Regions from separate parts of the Homo sapiens genome. Here region 2 is linked to region 1. The links are contacts of gene promoters, found by promoter capture Hi-C in human tissues and cell types (Jung and others, 2019). All regions are on one chromosome and are shown on one strand. Each heading gives the region's core, a stretch centred on a gene start or on the middle of the fragment in contact. The rest is flanking DNA. Distances are from core to core; before and after follow the strand shown. Region 1 holds the start of PTHLH (parathyroid hormone like hormone). Region 2 holds the start of LOC101928735 (a long non-coding RNA gene).

What was found. The method cuts DNA at HindIII sites, captures the fragments that hold promoters and counts their contacts. A contact is called where the count stands out against the background at its distance.
Region 2: a contact is called between a fragment that was not itself captured here and the fragment with the promoter of PTHLH in region 1, in 1 of the 25 tissues and cell types used here (lymphoblastoid cells).

The regions. Positions count from the first base shown.
Region 1 is chr12:27,971,233-27,974,152 of GRCh38, reverse strand. It overlaps PTHLH (parathyroid hormone like hormone), which reads left to right and starts at 1,420. Exons shown (of 6, transcript NM_198965.2): 1 at 1,420-1,630; 2 at 2,134-2,226. The HindIII fragment of the contact is 6,422 bases long and covers 1-2,920 here.
Region 2 is chr12:29,039,468-29,042,167 of GRCh38, reverse strand. LOC101928735 (a long non-coding RNA gene) reads right to left here and starts at 1,552. Exons shown (of 5, transcript XR_242930.3): 1 at 1,276-1,552; 2 at 534-715; 3 at 160-300. RefSeq lists an enhancer at 1-776. The HindIII fragment of the contact is 5,013 bases long and covers 1-2,700 here.

The DNA.
Region 1 (2,920 bases), core at 171-2,670:
TCTCTCTCTCTCTCTCTCTCTCTCACACACACACACACACACACACACACACACACACAGAGACATATCTGAAGAAGACTCTTCAGATATGTTTCAATTGTCAGGAGTTTGCGAGGTGCTCAAGTGCTTGACCTTTAAGAACCGGTTCTCAGAGACCCCCATTTCCTAAAGACCTTCTCATCTCACATTGGTTTGGGTTCCTCCCAGGAAACCGCCTCCTCTCTGGGCCTCCTGCTTCAGTTTGGGGGAAGCAGAACATTGCCCAGGAAGTAGGGAAGGGTGAGGAAGGGTGTGAGGCCCACTTTTCCCATGGGAGGATCCCATCAGCTTGATGCATATCTATACACTCCTCCCTGAGGCAGTTCCTCCAGAGGTTAGCAGCCCGCCCTGTTCCTGGAGAAGTCTTATCCTCACCTAACTACAAAAAGATTTAATAAAGAAACACACCCTTTCCTATTGTTACTTGGGGTTTGAAGGCATTACATCTTTTTTTCTTTTTTGCTACCTTGAGGTCAGCTGGCAACAGCCTCCTCTCAAGTCTCAGTCCAGGCGAGCGATGAGAGCCACATTCTAATGGAATCCAATGAGAGCATTACTTGAGCTGATTATGCAACGTCTCTTTGTAAACATTGAAAAAAGTTTGGAGAAGAGATGGGATGAGTTTAGTTGTTTGGTTCCAGGGGATTTTAGAGACATAGCTTGCAGCTACAGATTGGTAAATGTGAAATCTGGATGCTTATTGGTAATAAGAGAATTCCCAAGCCCAGGTGCACTGTTTAAAGTGCTATAGATTCATATTTGGTTTATAATGTATATCTGTTTGCTGTTTGGGTTAAGGAGGAAAGAAGAAAGAAGGATGAAGAGGCTAAGCATAAATGCTATTTACTTTTTTCTAAGCTATGACAGGAGATATACATTAACTGGGTATTCAACTGAATTTAAGAGTAATGCATTTAAAATTTTTTCAACCTCTTTTAAAATTTGATATACTGTAATAAACTGCCACTGGGGATGGGAAGATGGAAGCCTGGTGCTCATGGGCTAGGCATTTGTGTAGGTGTAGATCTTATAATGCTAAACATGGAAATACTTCAGATTAGAGGCAGGCCTTCCCATTTGCTAAGGTGCATTTACATGACAGCAAGGCCTAAGCAAACATTTAGCTTCTATTGGCACTTGTTCTATTTCTAAACCTTAGAAAAAAGGTGTGTGTGTGGGCTGGGGGGACGGGGGGGGGAGGGAGGTGGTAGGGGGTGCTCTTGCTGTGTCTCATTTGCAGTCATGCATCCTCTGCATTATTATGATGGAGATTACTCAGTTATGTTAGGAACTAGATTATGATGTCAGAAAATATCCTTTCCAAAACAGGCAAAAAGTCAGGGTCCTGGGTATATATTGAGGAGAATTTCTACGGAAAGTAATAAACAGGGCAGCTTGGAAGAGGTACCTGCTTTCTAATAATTGCCTTTAGTGGGAACAGAAGTCTCCTTTCAAGAAGCTTTTAATTCATTTTAAGATTTAATTTTATGTTTTCTGAAGAACAACAAAAAATATTTCTGGAAAAGACTGCTGAGAAGATTTCCCTCTTTCAGCCAGAAGAGCAGAGAGAAGATTGTAAATCAAGGAAAAGGTGAAGTAATAAATTAGGAGGGAACTTTGGTATTCCGAGTATATAAAGACTATTTATTTTTCCTGTGTCTATATTTTCTCTTTTTGTGGAGGAGAGGAAATTCTAAAAATATTTGATAGATGTTTTGCCATTAACACCAGAAAAGTGTGTGGGGAAAAAGAAAGGAGGGAAGGAGTGGGGGGTTAATTTTGTTTAATTAGTAGAAAAAGCAACATAAATCAAAGCAGTCTATTGATGCCAGTCCTTAATTTATAATGTTCTGAAAGTAAAGTGAATTTATTTACAACATAAGTGATTTGATAATTTCAATCTGATTTTTGTTTTAACCTTCTATTGGGAGAAGGGTTGACTTTTTAAAGCCTGGATAGTTTGAAACTTGGCTAGGTACCTTGGACTTTTTATTGTGGAAGCAAATATTATCATTTCAATGTTAAACAACTTGCAAGTATTAAATGGCTCATTTGTGATTGACTTTTTTTTTTTTTTTTTTTTTTTTTTTACAGATTTCCCCCTTCAGATCTAACGATTACATTAGGGCTCCTGCATCTTTTTGGAAGGATTCTTTTTATAAATCAGAAAGTGTTCGAGGTTCAAAGGTTGACATTTCTGAGTGCTGATACTTTGTCCTTTCATACTATCCAAACAAGTCTAACATTTAGAAATCCTTACACATTCAAGGGAAGTTGTGGAAATTCCCAGAGAGAGAGTGTGTGTGTGTGCGTGTGTGTGTTTTGGTTTTGTTTTGCTTTTTTTCTTTGTTAGTGAGAAGAAGCCGAGTCTTTTAAGGTACGGGGTTTACAGTAATGAACTGAGGAAGGCAGGAGCTTCTAAGAAAATATGCCCCCCCACCCAACCTAAGCAGTAAACTTTAACTGCTAGCTAGCTGCAGTGAACCAGTGGGAGCCCCGATGAGCGAGGGTCTCGGTGACAGCGTGCTATTTCTCCCACCCTGGGTAAAATATGTGGAGCATCACCCGGAAAGTCGGGCTTGATAAAGGCCACATTCCTTGAATCATCTCAAGAATCTAAATCACACTAGCCTTCTAGAAACTAATGAACCCTACCAGCAGGATTGCCTAGAAGACAAATATCCCTTGAATGGTTCCCAGTCCACTCGCGCTCTTTTCAAAAAGTTAGAGGAGCCCTGGGGAGGGTATCCACTCCCGCTGCAATCCTTTCCTAGATGATACTACCCAGTAATTCCGAGCAGTCTTTCTTCCCCGCCCATTAGCTTTGGAAAGAACCTCGGCTTTCCCGTCGCTTCTCCCAGGCAGAGCAGCACATAACCAT
Region 2 (2,700 bases), core at 105-2,604, 1.1 Mb before region 1:
CACAGCCCTCCACACATGGTAACCTTCTAATTACAGAATTTCCATCCAATCTCCTTTGAAAGCTTACGAATAGTCTTTTCCTTTCTTCCTCTTTTTCAGGCTTTGTTTCCCCTTAGATCTGTGATGCTGTCCTTATTTCATGAAATCAGGATTCCTTACCTTCCGGAGACTCAGTTACTGATTTAGAGAATTATTTTTCTTTTGTGAAGATGTCAACAAATTGTTCAAGACCGCGTTCTTGAAACAGCCTGTCTTTGGTCTTTTGAAGGTCAAAGTCCATGGACATTAAATTTTATTACTCTAGAAAGAACCACAAGACATTAGTCACTGCTAGTTGCATTCTTATGCTATGAAAGACTTTTATTACTCCTGTTTCTATATATAGAACAGTTCCTCCGTTTTCCCACTGTTTTTAGAACAAACTTTTATGCCCCTATACTGTCACCCATTCTGCAGCAGAAACTCTGCTAAGCTCAGCAGACACTTCAGAAGTGCTTGGTTCTGAGACATCTGAGGCATTGTTTGAACTTTACCTCTGATTTGTGGTCATGGCAAGGGCAAGATGTTTAAGTTCTTCAATCTCGGATGCATATAAGTCTGGGAATCCATCAGCAAGGGCCTTGGGCTCAGTCTTCTGTAAGTGATCATTCTTGTGAACAATCTCTTTCCACTTCATCATGGTGCTCTTGGATGGCCCTCAACAGGAAGATCAAGACTGCAGTGAAAAGAAAATACACCACCTTACTCATATAAACTGAAAACTCACTGATAATGTTTGTGCATTTTTTACACTTGACTTTATAATATGATAATTTTTAATGTCCTTAGATAATTTTAAAATATGAGTTATGAGTTGAATAGTATGTAATGTGTTAACATATAAGTGTATAAGTATATACATATGTATATGAGTAACATGTGCATGTTAACATATGAGTGTATAACAGTTTATGTTAACTATGTAACAATTTACTTAATTTTTGAACAGATTTGTTAAATATATAAATTTTTTATTTTTAAAACATTGAATTGTACTAAGGATCTTATTCTTAATGATTTTTGTTTGTTTGTTGATTTAGTTTGATTTTTTGTTGTTGTTGTTGTTGTTTTGAGACAGGGTCTTGCTCTGTCACCCAGGCTATGTTTTGCAGGAGAGCAAACCTGACTCACTGCAGACTCAACTCCTGGGCTCAAGTGATCCTCCTGCCTCAGCCTCCAATATATCCGAGACCACAGGTGCATGCTGCCACACCTGGTTAATTTTTAAAATTTTACCTTGGGTTTGAACATCAGAATGCTAACAGAAGTTTCTTAACTTTCCCTTTATCTCCTCTCATATTTATGCTGAGGCTCTTAGGGAGTAGAACTGAAAACAAAATAGAGGCAAGGCCTTCTGGTTTTTCGAAGCAGCAGTTTATCAGTTCCAGGGAACAAAGCAGGAGAAAGATGACTTGGCATGAACTCTCAGGGCTGGCTCCCTTGGTGTTGGTAAAGGTGAGTCCCTCCAGGTAGTAGCATCAGTTACTTGGGCATTTATGTCTCCATGGAGACCGGGGAGAGAATAATAGGGCACTCCTCATTTTGAACTCAGAGGGAGGAGCTGCTCTGAATCTACTTTGTCTTAAAGTGACTGAAAACTTCAGACCACACAACTGGATGTAAGATGGGCAGTAAAAAACAGACACTTGGACACTTGGTTTTAGTTTGGGCCCCCTGTCCAGTGTACGGTGGCTTTTCGACTCTGTGCATGAGGCCACCCCACTCCTCTTCTCAGTACTTTGAAGCTTCTGTTTATTTGGATGATTCTTTCTTAGTACTAAAATACATTTTCCTCTATGTGCTCCCTCACTGTTTTACTGTTACCTCTAACGCCCTGAGTAATTTCCCCTGGCCCACCTCTGATTTCAGCCATAACTGTGATGATAGTTCAGCGCAACCTTAGAATCACCTTGTACTGACAGGTGCACCGTGCATCTTTTCACTTTCTGTTCTAGGGCTATCTCACACTCTGCAGAAGCCTGGAAGATCCTGCTTAGCCCATGCGCAAATTCAGTCTAGAATTTCAGGGTAGTAAATAACCATCCATAAATAGGATGAGAGCCAGTGTATAAGGACTACAGGCTTCCATTCTTTGGACTGTTAAGTTATAATTCTAGGAAATATTTTGCATGCTTTTCTTGAGGTTCTCATTGTCCACAGCAGATATTTTGATGTTTCCTTATATTTTCCTCTCTTCCTTCCTTGTTTCACTCCTTTCATTACTTCACTCCTGTGTCCTGGGATTATATCCCAAATATAATAAAATATCCTCACCCATGTCCTTGTCCTATCCACTGCTTTCAGAGAACCCAAACTAAGACAGTTGGCATACAAGTGGTCCTTAGAAGCCAATTCTCAGAATTGGATTGTAGAACTGGTATACTAACCAGTTAGAAGAAGTAAGGATGGCATTGCTGGTATGAGTAGAGAGGTGATAAACTCCAGGGTGGTCATAACTGTGTTGCAGCATTACAGTTACTAGGATGCTCACCAGTGCTGGATTTGGAGAAGGTACAGATATAAGGAGAAGCAATGGTGTGTAGCAGGGATTGGACTATTAGAAGTTGTGGGCCAAATATGATTCATTGCCTAATTTTATACATAAAATCTTACTGAAACACAGCCATGACCCTTCACTTATGCATTGTCTATGGCTGATTG